Linked DNA regions of Homo sapiens: all the other regions are linked to region 1. Evidence: promoter capture Hi-C in human tissues and cell types (Jung and others, 2019). All regions are on one chromosome and are shown on one strand. Each heading gives the region's core, a stretch centred on a gene start or on the middle of the fragment in contact. The rest is flanking DNA. Distances are from core to core; before and after follow the strand shown. Region 1 holds the start of ZNF365 (zinc finger protein 365). Region 2 has its middle 200 kb from the start of REEP3. Region 3 holds the start of LINC00845 (long intergenic non-protein coding RNA 845). Region 4 has its middle 240 kb from the start of REEP3.

The links. The method cuts DNA at HindIII sites, captures the fragments that hold promoters and counts their contacts. A contact is called where the count stands out against the background at its distance.
Region 2: a contact is called between a fragment that was not itself captured here and the fragment with the promoter of ZNF365 in region 1, in 4 of the 25 tissues and cell types used here (IMR-90 fibroblasts, aorta, hippocampus and 1 more).
Region 3: a contact is called between a fragment that was not itself captured here and the fragment with the promoter of ZNF365 in region 1, in 1 of the 25 tissues and cell types used here (dorsolateral prefrontal cortex).
Region 4: a fragment that was not itself captured here is called in contact with the fragment with the promoter of ZNF365 in region 1 in 1 of the 25 tissues and cell types used here (spleen).

What each region holds. Positions count from the first base shown.
Region 1 is chr10:62,372,357-62,375,775 of GRCh38, forward strand. It overlaps ZNF365 (zinc finger protein 365), which reads left to right and starts at 2,013. Exons shown (of 5, transcript NM_014951.3): 1 at 2,013-2,102. It overlaps LOC283045 (a long non-coding RNA gene), which reads right to left and starts at 2,771. Exons shown (of 4, transcript NR_104162.1): 1 at 2,515-2,771. The HindIII fragment of the contact is 5,251 bases long and covers 1-3,419 here.
Region 2 is chr10:63,719,406-63,722,848 of GRCh38, forward strand. No RefSeq gene overlaps it. Among named protein-coding and RNA genes, the nearest start is that of REEP3, 200 kb to the left of the region's middle. The HindIII fragment of the contact is 3,304 bases long and covers 1-3,272 here.
Region 3 is chr10:61,015,139-61,018,650 of GRCh38, forward strand. LINC00845 (long intergenic non-protein coding RNA 845) reads left to right here and starts at 1,137. Exons shown (of 2, transcript NR_108052.1): 1 at 1,137-1,203. The HindIII fragment of the contact is 4,801 bases long and covers 1-3,512 here.
Region 4 is chr10:63,761,553-63,764,894 of GRCh38, forward strand. No RefSeq gene overlaps it. Among named protein-coding and RNA genes, the nearest start is that of REEP3, 240 kb to the left of the region's middle. The HindIII fragment of the contact is 3,122 bases long and covers 166-3,287 here.

The DNA of each region.
Region 1 (3,419 bases), core at 763-3,262:
CTGTCTAAGAAATGGGAGGAGCTGGCTGGGCGCGGTAGCTCACGCCTGTGATCCCAGCACTTTGGGAGGCCGAGGCCGGTAGATCACCTGAGGTCAGGAGTTCAAGACCAGCCTGGCCAACACGGCAAAACCCCGTCTCTACTGAAAATACAAAAATTGGCCGGGTGGTGGCAGGGACCTGTAATCCCAGCTACTAGGGAGGCTGAGGCAGGAGAATCGCTTGAACCCAAGAGGCAGAGGTTGCAGTGAGCTGATATCGCGCCACTACAGCCTGGGAGACAGAGTGAGACTCCGTCTCAAAAAAAAAAAAAAAAAAAAAAAAGGGGCGGGGGGGAAGGGAGGACCAGAGCATGCTTTTGTTATGTTTTGCCATGAAGGCAGTGGGTGTAAGAGGTTAACCTGCAGGCACCTCACAAGATGACGGAGATAACTTGGCACTCCAATGAGTGTATCTTTCAGACTTTAAGATTTTGTACTAAATAAATTGATTCTTGGAATAGTCTTGAGAGCGAGTCAAAAAGTAACTTCAATGAGATATAATATTTTCAAAGCAAACACACCCCAGCACAATAGCCTATCTCCATTTACGTAGAAGTTAGTACATATTAATTCCTCTTCTCCTTCCTGCTTTTTAAATGTGTGTAGGCCCCTTTTTTATGGAATTAATAATAATTATAAATGAAGTAGCAACAACGATAACAGCTGACTTTATCAGTGTGTGTCCCTGTCAGGCAGGGTTTTTACCTCCATCATCATAGCACATTCGATCCACCGCTATATTAAGAGGTAGGTCTTGATTATCTTCATTTCATAGATGAGGAATTGAAGGAACAGAAAAGTCTAGTTACTTGACCCAGGCCCTAGAACCAGGATTTGAATCAAGTCTGATGCCAGAGCTTGGGATCTTCATTGCATTTGATGTGATAATTCATTTGTGAAAAAACAAAGCAATTCATTTGTTTTCATTTGTCAAAAACAAAACAAAATTTCAACTAAGATAACTGTTGAGCTCTTTACCGTTAAAATAAAATCGGGTGTTGAAATGAGTAACAGCAAGCCTTGAGAAAAGACACCCTGAGAAGTCAAGAGGATGCATTAACTGTCTACAGATGAACAGAATCTCTTCTCTTCTTTGAACAAGAAAACCCAGCAGTAACTTTTATCTAGGTTTCACATTTCAGGAGTTACAGTAGGGGTAAACCAAAACAGGTTAAAAAAAAAAAAAAAAAAAAAAAAAAGCAAAAGCCCAGCAAGCTGAGACATCAGAGTCCTTCAGAAGGAATGATTTGCCGTCTTCTCTTCAGGACATCCCCTCTTTAGGAGGACAAATTTTTTCTCCAGGGAAAGGGGCGTCCGCCTCAGAAATGGGGGTGTAGGTGAGGGATCTTGTTGCTTTAACTGTTTGTTCATTAATCCCTGCACTTTACTAGATTTAGTTCTGCCTGTTAACGTAGCCTCAGGACACTTGGCTAGGAAGGCTGGAGTGTACTCTCTGGGTTAGTTATTTTGGGACATTCTCGCCCTGCTGCTTGGGATGAAGAGGTCCTAATTAAATACCCGGACCTTCCAACGGGTAGATTTTCAAAGAAGATGCCCAGCTATGCTGCATCCTCATCCACACTCTCCCGCTCCCCCCAAACTAGTGCAAAAAAGCTTGCCAGGGCCTGCAGAAAGCGCCGCGACTGCGAGGCTGACACGCGTCTTTCCTTCCCTCCCCCGGGGAATGATCCCAGCATCTCTCGCAGTGATGTCAGTGTAATCCTGAGTCGGATCGGGCTCCCGGCTGGGTGGCGGGGGGGCAGATGATGCTCCCGCCAGCTGGGCAGAGCAAGGGTGTTCCCCGCGGAGGTGGCAGCCCTGGGCCGCGGCGTTCCGGAACCCCCGCACCCACGGCGCGGTGCCCCACGGTGCCCGCGAGCGCCGCCCCCGCTGGCTAGCCGCGCCTCGCTCCGCCCTGGACGCCGCCGGTCCCGGCGCGGAGGTGCGGCGGGGAGTGGGAGCCGGCCCGGCTCAGTCTGATTTACGGCTCTGCTGAAAACCGCTTCGCTCCCGCAGCATCAGCACCGGAGGCGGCGGCTGCAGCAGCAGCAGCAACAAGTCGGGTAAGAGGCGGCCGCCGGCCATCTGCGCCCGCGGCTCGGCGGAGGGGACCTGCCGGGGTGGCCGGGGCTGGGGAGGGGGTCCCCGAGCCCGCAGCATGGCGGGGAGTTGGGAGAGCCGGCTTCCCGGCCCCCACCAGCAGGAACTCATGTGCACACGAATCCACTCTGGCACCCGTGGGCTGGCACGCAGCGGAGAGGGGGCGGGGAGAGCTGGGACCCCGGGGCAGGGTCATTGCCAGCCTGCCCTTCTCTGGCAGAGTCACTTAGGGCTCTTCATCAGCCCAGTGGACTGGGTTTCCTCTGGGCCCATAAAAGCCTGCGTGCTCTGGAGTGTGTGATTACCCATTTCCCCATCCAAAATGCCACCCTTTTCCCATTGCCCCCTTAGAATCCTGACTTCCCCTTTCCTTACCTCTTGTCAGCGTCTTTGGCCCTATGCTGAGCCAGGGTTTGCATCTCGTTCCCAGAAAACCAGTGGTTAAACATCCCGGTGTACCCATCACAGGAAGAGGTTCCCCTCTCTGGGGGCCGGGGGCTTCACCTAGAAGCCTTGCCTGCCTCGCTGCCTGGGGACCATTTGCACCTCTGCTTTTGAAGAGGTTGAGGACACTTTTCACCCAAAGACCCCAGCTGGGCTCCCTCATTTCGGGTCCAATGCTTGTTACATTTAAGTAGAAACCTTTCATGGAGGAATAGAAGATATGCACTGCTTGCAGAATTGGGTTGCCAACAGTCATCTGTTGCTAGGGTGAAGATAATGCATTCCTACAAGGAAACCAGAACTTCCTGTTATTAAGAGAGTATGCTGATACCTACCTGGTTCACACACTGACCATCCCTAGAGGTTGTCATATAAAATAGCATCTGAGACAAGACAAATCCGTCCAGAACACTCTATTATAATAAAAATCTTGGCCATGGCCCCACTTATGCCAAATGGTATTTGACACATTGGGTCCCCAGGTTTCAGTGAAACTCACGTATGGGGTCTGTTATTGTTACGATTAGCACTTTGGTTTATGTCATCACAGCAATACCTGAAGGAAAAAAAGGCAAAAATTTCAGGGTGAAAAATTTTCAGCTGATTGCAGGCTTAATGCCACTGTGCATAGCTTGAGTAATCTTTCCTGTACTTGAGGATAGGTCCTGAGCTTGCTGTCTTAGGACCCATTTTGACAATTCATGTGAGTTTTCATATGTTCTTGTGTTCACGCATCTCGGATTGTATCCTTAAAATGGGGCACGGTTTTGCATTTAGTGTGCCAAATTCAGGAGGGGAGGAAACTTGAATTCCACTTCTGGATCTACCACTTTCCA
Region 2 (3,443 bases), core at 371-2,870, 1.3 Mb after region 1:
TTCGTCTGTTTTTATCTGTGGACTTTGATTCTGCTGATTGTGTGACATTGGGAAATTGACCTAGATTTCATGCTTCAGTTTTTACTGTATATTTCCATAGCATGCTCTATCTCAGACTCAGGGAACTTATGTGAAGTGATAATAATGGTTAATATTTAAATAGAATCTCTAAAGAAAAAGTATTGTTTCTAGTACTTTATGTGTATGAATTCATTTGTGACTCATTCATAAGGTAGATCATGAGGTATAATCTAAAGTAGGGCTAGGATTTAAGCTTACACAGTCTGGTTCTAGGTCTGTGCTATTAATTATTAAGCCAGACAACCTCTTATAATAGGGAATAATTTGAAGGAGAGAAATGAAAAATGCCCTGCAATTATTCGAGTACTTTCCTAGTCTTATTTATAAATACCAATCTTTCAAAAGTAAACTGGGCCTCAATTCTGCTGAAACCATCTCAAATTTCAGATGAGGAATAGCTGAATGGATGCTAATACTGCAGTGATTACAATTATTAAACTATTCATTTTTATAAAATGAATAATGAATACACTTTAACCCACCTCCTTTCAAAAATGGTTTCAGGTCACAGATCAGTATAAGCAACTCAATTTTAATTCCAGCTTAGAAATAATAATTCAAAAATAGTATTTACTAAGTAATTAAGTAAGGGTTCTTTTAATTTTTTCGCCTTATGCTCATTAAATTATTTTAACCCTGGCCAGACTAATTGAAATTTAACTGCATGATAAAACTTTACCGCCATCTAGTGTCAGTCAGGAGCATTGCAGGAGTGTTGCTTTTTGAATCTGTTTTGGTAGCTACCTGCCGTATCTATGGCAATATTAAGCGGCACTCCCAGGTGGCACTCTTTGACTCCTATACCAGCGACCTTTGATTTTATAGATTATTCCAATAATTTGAGTTCAGAGGAACTAATTTCATGGCATTTCTTATTTCTAAATCCTGGTTTATTTTATGAGTGTGCTCTCAGGGGAATATAAGAATCTTTCATCCAAGTCAGGGATAGTTTCTAAATTCTCTGAATGTCCTCACCCCTAAGAGCTCTTGTTACTTTAGCTTCAAGATGGTAAACGTGGGGGAAAACTTTGTGCTATATATTTAAATTATTATGAGTTTTTTTTGTATATCAAGTATTTATGTGTACACTATAATAGTTATCTACTGCTGTGGGATAAATCGCCTCAAAATGTAGCAGCTTAAACAGCAAAAATTTATCTCACACTATTTCTGAGGGTCAGGAAGCAGAGAGTGGTTTAGCTGGGTGGTTCTGGCTAAGGGTATCTCGCAAGGTAAGTCAAGTGTGAGATGAAGCTGCAGTCATCTCAAAGCTCAACTGGAGCTGGAGAATCTGCTTCCAGACTCACCCGTGTTAGCAGGTTTTGGTTTCTTGCTTGCTGTCGGCTAGAAGCTCAGTTCCTTGACATGTGGGACTCTTCACAGGACGTGCTTCCCCTAGAGCAAGAGGAGAGGGGAAGAGAGTGAGAGACAGAGAGGAAGCCACAGTCTTTTAAAATAATCTAATCTTACTCTCATATGTTATTGATCAACCAAACCAGCCCTGGTCCCCTTGTGTGGCAGAGAATTACAGAAGCTTGTGAATAACAGTAGGTGGGGATCCTTGGGGCCATCTTGAAGGCTGGTGACTACACCCACCATCAAGCTTTATTAAATAGTAATGTTTTGCCTGATTTGGGTAACTGCTTCATAACATGAGTTTAGCCCAAGGCTAAATTCTGAGAGGTACAAATGGGAAACAACTTTTTCTCCCTTGGTTGCTTTCAACCATACTATGCTAAATCTCCCTTCTGTGCTCTGTAACTTCAATCTCTGGTAGATTTCATAGCTTTTGGCTCACATTCAGCTGTAACAAGAGTCCTTGTTTGTTTGTTTCTTATTTTTAATACATGGTTTCTTATTTTTAATACATGGTTTCACTCTGTTGCCTCACTGCAGCCTTAACCTCCTGGGCTCAAGTGATCCTCAATCTCAGTCTCCGGAGCAACTGGGACTACAGGAATATGCACCATACCTGGCTAATTGTGTGTGTGTGTGTGTGTGTGTGTGTGTGTGTGTGTGTGTGTGTGTGTATTTGGTACACATGAGGTCCCACTATGTTGCCCAGGCTGGTCTTGAATTCCTGGGCTCCTGCCTGGGCCTCCCAAAGTGCTGAGATTGCAGGCATGAGCCACTGTGCCTAGCCCCTGTTTTCAGGTATTAAAAATGTTAGTCTGGGCTGGGCATGGTGGGTCACGCCTGTAACTCCACTACTTTGGGAGGCTGAGTGGGAGGATCACTTGAGGCCAGGAGTTTGAGACCAGCCTGAGCAACCTAGCAAGACCCTGTCTGTATTAAAAAAAAAAATTAGCTGGGTGTGATGGTGCATGCCTATAGTCCCAGCTACTTAGGAGGCTGAGGTGGGAGGATCACTTGAGCTCAGGAGATTGAGGTTACAATGAGCTATGAGTGCACCACTGTCCTCCAGCCTGGGTGACAGAGTGAGACCCTGTATTAAAAAAACAAAACAAAACAACGCCCTCCCCAGCCAAAAAAAAACTTAGTCCAATCTCATATATAGCTTGAATCTTCTCTCCTTAACTCTTCTTACTTCTGACTCTGAGGAAGGAGAGCATGACTGTTCTTTCAGTGTTTTTCTGACTATTTCTCATCTCTTTCCTGCTTTCTAATTCCTCTAGTATAGAATCCAGCATGCAGATCAGAGAAAGAGGAGCAAAGTGTCACTGTACTTAGCTGGTATTGTATGTGATTCTCTCATGGATAATACTGGCTGGGACTCATTCCCTCTGTTAATCTGAGAATTCACATAGAGCTTCTCCAGGGCACCCTGTGGGGATGCAGGGGGTTCCTCCTATTCTGGTCATTCTCCAGTTGCTTCTGAAAATCTTCTCTCAGCTTTTGCCCCACATGTTCTGGGCTTCACTCTACACAGCTTCTTCCTGCTGGGGACCCCTGGCTTCAGGCAGTAGTTCTTTTGGTCAGGGTCTGTTCCAGATGATGCATGTCTTGCTACTCTCTTCAGGTTCCCTTGGTCAATGGGAAAACACTGTCCATCCTTTTCCTCCCTAAAGCTTAACCATCTAATCAGCCCTCTCTCCCACCCTGTAATTGCATGCTGCTCCAGCCAGTCTCTTGCCTTCAGCGTTCTTGAGATGGATGGAAACCAGGCAAAGATGCCAGCAAATGCCTGTGGATGCTCTTTGGCTCTCCTAAGAACACTTGTTGTTCTCTATGGTCTGGAAGCAGCACCAGGGCCTGTGATGTCAGGGCTCTGTAAACATCCAGCCAGGAAGTGAGATACAAATCTTTCTCGTAGGCATTTCTGGTCCCTGTGACTGATTTGCTTGGACTCCTTCACTTGGCTTAGCAGTAGGGAGGGAGGGAAAAAGCCAAAGCTTTTCTAG
Region 3 (3,512 bases), core at 37-2,536, 1.4 Mb before region 1:
CTTAATATCATTAAATATTAGTAAATTAAAATCTGATCCTTCGTCTCCCACTTACTCCATTATTTCCTAGGATAGAACGGATTGCTAAAGGTACAAAAATCTGTTTGTTTTTAGGCTTTTATGCTTTGGTCTTTTTACCTTATACTTTAATATCTTTCTTGCGCCTCTCTCCATTATTAAAAAGGATGCATTACCTATACTTAAAAAATTATGTTACAGTTATGCCACTTCCCTCCTTAAAATGTGGCTCCCATTGCACCTAGAATTAAATTCTCTCAGCATAGCTGGCAAGGCCCTGTAGGACCAACTCTAACTCTATCTACTCTCTTATCACTAAGTTTGGTGATACTAGATGACTTTTCATTTCTTGAAGATAGCTTGCTCATTTTTGACCTTGCATCTGTAAACTTGTAATTCTCTCTGGAATGTTCAGAGCCCAAAATTTCAAATGACTGGTTCCTTCTCAATGTTCCTTTCCTCCCTACCCATCTAATGTGGCCACATACCCCTCCAGTCCTTCCACATCACTTTAACCTATTTTTAAAAGCCAATTTTGAAAATGGGATTATTTATTTATTTACATATTATGACATAATCTCCATTAAAATGCAATTGCCATGAAACTAGAGACCCTGTCTATATGTTCACATCTCTATAATCATTATTTAGCACAGAACCTAGAACATAGTAGGTGCTTGGTAAATATATATTTTTAATGAAAATATGGTGGCAGAAATGATATAAGTAGTAGTTAAAAGTATAGAATTGAGATCTGTGATCAAATCCTGGTCTCTTGCCATTTAATTTTCTCAAGTTTCTTCGCTGCCCCAATCATGATAATATGGTAAATACTCATCAATCAGGCTATGGTGGATATTATTTTGAGGTGATAATATATTAAGTGTTCAGCACATGCCTAGCATATAGCAATTGCTCACTAAATAGTAGCTATAATAGTTTTTCTGCAGAACAGTAGCAGAGCAGGATGGGCTGCAGGCCATTTACACTGAGAATCCTGAGGCATGCCAGGGCGTAAAAACCAGAGAACAAATTCTTTTTGTTTAAGTTCAAAAGTGCAAACATCCAAAGTTCAGAATTTGGGTAGAGTAGGTGAGAGCAAGAAGCAAGGATGAAGGAAAGGGAGAACACTGAAGACAGTGTTTGCTAGTGGGATTTAGTCCATTTTTATTGGCAGGATTGCACGTGAGTAGCTCTATTTGGCTTAAAACTCCAGAAGCAAGGCTAGAAACTGATTCTCTACAGGTGAAACTTACATTACTTTGTTTGTTGATTTTTGAAACTATTTTGGATATTTTATCTATCTTGTTCTAAATAACTAAGAAGAGCCTAATTTGATTATTCTGTGAGGTAAACTATCCTCTTTTATATGTATATGACTCTTCTCAATTTCATACTGAAATTTAGTGACTACACAAACCTTATTTGATCACTTGATGGTAGTTTGTTCTAAGTTATATAGGCACAGTGCTTAGGGCTATAGCAAAATAATGGACAAAAAAATCTCTTTTGAAAACAGTTTAATCTTTGATGTTTTAAAAAATAAGAAAGAGAAATAAGGAACAACAGTGTAGTTATAAGAAAAAACATCTAAACTTGGTTAGAATTCCTTACTCATATTTATGACTTTGCTTTGCCATATTGAATTACATATAGATAGAGGGATCAGGGCCAAACAAAATATCTCCAGGGCTTGGTTCTCCAAAGGCTTTAATCCAATCCTCTCTAGACACATTTTTATAAAACAGGATTGAAGATTTTAGATCTCAAATCTCAGGTCCCAGTTGCAAATTTTCAGTCTCCAACCCTAACTAACTCTTCCTTAAGACGAAAACAAACAAACAAAACCAAATACCTACACATCCAAGACTTTTCTGGAAAGGGGGCATATGCTGTGGGGAGGGATGTTTAAATTTTCTGTTTTTAATTTTTTAAACAACTCTCCAAAGTAGAGAAAATTTGAAGAATTAAAAAATTAAAAAGATTATATTCTAATTTCTGATGTCATTTTACTGTAGTTCCATTCAATATTCTTTTTATATGCATTTCTTTAATAGCCTAGTAATAAGCAGAGTATTTGAGGAATTACCAGTTGTTTGGGCCCTGTATGTTTTTGAAGTTAGTTGTAGTCAGGATAGATTAGGTTATTATGAGGTAACAAACAACTCCAATCTCTCAATGCCTTTACACAATAAAAGTTAATTTCTTCCTCATGCAGACCCAGGGGATTTGAATGATTCTTCAGTTGTCTTCCACAAGGTGGCTTGGCAATTTAAGGTCTTTTGATTTTGTTTCTCTGTAAACTCAAAATCTCAATTCAAGGCTTCCTTGATTGTTACAGTAAGAAAGGGGGCTATATGGGCCTTTTCAGTTTTTCAGCCCTGCTCACATTTCACCGGACAGAACTCAGCCCCGTGGTCCTGCCTAACTGCAAGTGCATTGGGAAGTGAGGTTTTCCATGTGCTGTGGAAGGAGCTAGGAACCTGAAATATATAGGCTAGCTATGTCTATCATTCCTCAAATTAATTTTTTTTAAAGCAAAGGATTTAGCTCAGAGCTCAAAATTATTCAAAAAGAGGGTTTGACACGCATACAAGTTTATAACCAGTAGAATTGGATTATTGGCCACTTGAGGATAATTGACAGTCTAAGGATTGTGCAAGGATTGCTTTAAAGAAAATACATTCTTATGGCAGATTTGACATAGCCAACTACATTTTCATAATGTTATTATACTTACGTTCTTCAGCTTCCTTCAGAAAATTGGTTCTTTGCTATTTTGTCTAACCTCTTCACTTGGGCAATGGCCTTTACAAGAATAGATTTAAGTTATTCTGGTCTGTGATGTAGACTTGCAATGCTATGCTGAACTCAGACTATGTCATGAAGAAGCCCAGCCAAACTATTAGTTTGCCTTATGAAATTACTGTTATTTAATTATTTTTTATTACCAAAAGCAATTTTCTATGATTCATCTTTATAGTTAATATTAGGTAGAAAAATAACCAGAACATTGCCATTTCCCTTATTTTACCTTTTTGCATTGGTGTAACTCCAATCTGGGTCTTATAATGGGATCTTTGAGCTCAAGTAAGGAATTTTATACACAGAATTTTGTATTGTAAGCATCACTGTCTTACATAACCTTTTCAACCATGACCAAAGGGTTCACAACATGACCAATGGTTAATTTTAGTGAATTATTTAACAAGTTAATTATCCCCAGTTTCTTCAGAACATGTGGTTCTTCCTTAGGTCAACTACTCATTTCACATCTCTTAACTACATGGCTTATAGTAATAAAAGATGTGTGAAGTTTATTTTTTCCCAGGTTTATTGAGATATAATTGACAAATAAGAATTTTATATATTTAAGAAAAAATGTGATAATTTGATATATGTCAATAAATAATTGTCACAATGAATCTAATTAACACATCTATCGCCTCACAGTTACCTTTATTTTTGAGAACACTTAAGATCTACTATCTTAG
Region 4 (3,342 bases), core at 477-2,976, 1.4 Mb after region 1:
TTTCCCAGAAGAAAATCGAGAACAAAAGTAATGCTTGTTGGGGAGACAAAGACCTGAGATGCCCTCTGTGCTGGATATTTCTCATTTGCCCCTCAGATCTACTCACCACCCATCTCTGCGCCTCGGGAGTCTAACTCATGTATATTACGTTGATAAGCTTTCTTTCCCTCAAGCTTCCAATTGAATTTGGCCAATGGAGAACTCTGGCAGATTAGAGTCAAGCAGATGTGTGAGGGAGGGGTGTTTATTCCACCAGCCCCTTTCCAGAAAGGGCCCTACCTGTAAATAAAGTTCACAGTGCCCACCAGGCAACCCTCTTGACACAGTTTGTGCCATCTCCAGGTGCTGCTGCTTTCTTTGCTTTTTCAAGACAGAATGGTAACACCCCTGGGGTTTGGCACAATCCCTTTTAGTTTTTCTACACTCTGCTCACACTTTTATAAAAGATCCCCTTATTAAACTCAAGTTCCCAAATAGGAGTGCATCATCTAACTCCTGCCACGACCTGAATGATATACCCTTTATAAGCAGAGAAGTAAAAGTCACATTCATGTCAAGTGAAAAATGATTTGGTTCATCTGGGGGCGTTAGCTCAAGAGTTGAGAAGATTTAGGTGAGGCATGTTGACTGTATTCAAAATCAATGCAAAGGGTGGCCACAGGGAAGAGGGAGCAGCATGGTTTTGTGTGGCTTCTTTCAAATCAGAGTTGTTAGGTTTCCAACAAATAGTGCTGTCTAAAAATGAAGCAAGCTGCCCAAAAGGTAATGAGTTCACCATCACTGAAGGTATTCAGCTGGACATCTTTAGTGACATCCACCTGTTAAGGGTTTTTGTGAAGGGGATTCCTTCATCAGATCGTAGGTGAATTAAATTACCTTGAGAGTCCCTTCTTAGAGTTCTATTCATGCAGAAATATTTTTCATTTCCTCTGGCCCATTGCTTTCTCACTGCCTGGCAGACATTTGATGTTGGAACCAGAGGCTATGGGTGCATCTGCTGAGGCCTGGAGACTTTGTATTGTTTGCACTGATTTCCTAGGTCTTCTGGTTCCTCTCCTCCCCCAACACCCTCTGGTGTGAGGGTCATAAATCAGAAGTGGTGAACTGTTCTTTGGTATCTTGTCAGTGGCATGTTGGGTGCATTAAAAGACTTCATGTGCCCCTTTGCCTACATAGACTGGCAAATGTCCCCAGGTAGAAGCTATAGGGAGCAATCTAATGGTGCTCATTACTAAATGTCACAAAGAACTAAACTGCTACTCCCAGAGAAGTAAAATTACATTAGCAACCAGAAATTGCTGAACTTTAACCATTGAGATGAACAGAAAAATTTGTGACATGACATTGCTATTCTTTTTATTATATATGTTTTTCCATTTAAGAAATTGAATTTAAAAAGCCTTCTAGAGTTTTATAGGCTCAATTACGAGCTTCCTTTCCTAATCCTAATTTATTCAGAAGGAATCAAACTCCTTAGAGACAAATTCTCCTACCCTGCAGGGTTTTCTGGACCTACTGTATCTGGGTATAAGTGACAGACAGTGATTTGGCCAACTTACTTTAAAAAAGAATTGACAGGACTGAAGAAAAATCTGAAGACGCAGGCTTGGAATGGGCAATTTGCAGAGCAGTAGAAGCCAAGCATCTTGGAAGGGGATGGCTGGAGGTATAAAGCAGCTCTAATGAAATTTCTGTCTATGAGTCACTCTACTCAAAATGTGAAATTGTGAGGAAGGAGTCCTAACGGGCTCTTTGAGTCTCAAGCCTATCTTTGGTTGGGGAAAGGGCGGGGCACCTTGACTGAGGGTCCGACCAAACCTACACACAGTGGGAGAGGTAATATCCCTGAATACTGGAAAAATGGAAACCACTGCCCACACACCAACTCTTAACGGCAGCCAGGAAATTACCACATGAAAATAAAGATTGAAGCAGGTAATATGGTAGTTCTGAGGCAGGATAGCCTATCCTAGAAAAGTTGATTATGGTTAATGTGGAAAAAGTACTGACACATAGACATGTATTGGAGAAATATTCATTGAGAGAAGCATTAGTTGAAAGGATTAAGATTCTACTGTTCCTCTCAGAGTGGTTTTAGGATTGTCTATGGTGTAATGAGATATTTGCCAGCCCAATGTGGGTCTCGGACAGGAGCTGACAAGCTTTTTCTGTAAGGGCCACATAGTAAATATTTTAGGTTTTGTAGACCATATAGTCTCTGTTGCAACTACTCAACTCTGCCATTGTAGTGTGAAAGTGTCAGACAATATGTAAACAAACGGGGGTGGCTGTGGCCCAATAAAACTTTATTTACAAAAACAGGTGGTGGTGAGGTATGACCCATGGCTGTACCTTGCTGAGCCTTGGTTTAGGGAGATACTTTATTGCTATGGTAGTTTGGTGGAGCCCAGTCAAGGCAGCAATTGTAGGCTCAATGTGAGTCATCAGTTTGCTCAGCAGCTGAGTCTGAGCACATTGGTGATGGGCCCTGGAAGACATGTCTAAAACAGAAAGAAAGCACATGGTAGTTGACCTGGGATTTCCGAGTTCATCCTGGTCCAACTGCTCAGTGATTGAGGGCTGCTAGAGCTCCCAGAGCCTCAGTTTCCTCATCTTTAAAGTGGAGAATATAATTAGAATGCCCCTTATGTTTGTTGTTTATGAGAAATAGACAGCATGGAGCTTAATACGTAGTACTTAGAGCACACACTTTGTTCCTTCTCTTTCCTCCCTTCCTAAAGTCACATAGAAAGCATACATTGCTTCAATAGGTCTTCATTGAAAGATCACTGACATTTCATTCAACTTGGGAAATGTTTGAAAAAAGCCAATGCCGTGTTTTTGAAGATTCTCAGGAGCACAGAATGATGAAAAAGAGGGTGAAGGAGTGGCCTTAGAAGGATGAGGAAAATACCTTGTCTCCCTGTCTTCCCTATCTTCTTTACGTTTCTCTCCAACCGTGGCCTCTTCTCTGGACAGACTCCCTTTGAGGTATGGGCAGTTCTGAGGCATATTCACAAGCAGGAGTTCCTGTGGAGGGAACTCTAAATCAGGCCCTTGGGGTAACAGGTTGGGAATGTAAAAGTATTCAGCCCAGAATGTGATACTGTCTTTGATGCAGGGTAGGCAGGCCCCAAAGTGGAGTTTAGCCCACTGGGTTCTTGGCTTTGTCCAAGAAAGAACTCAAGGGCAAGCCAGAGGTAGAAGGAAACAGCTTTATCGAAGAGACAGTGTTACAGCTCTATGACTGCTCCTGCAGAGCAGGGCTACTGAGTAGGCAGAAAGTAGCAGCTCAGGGCAGTTTTGTAGTCATATTTATACCCACTTTTAATTGCATGCAGA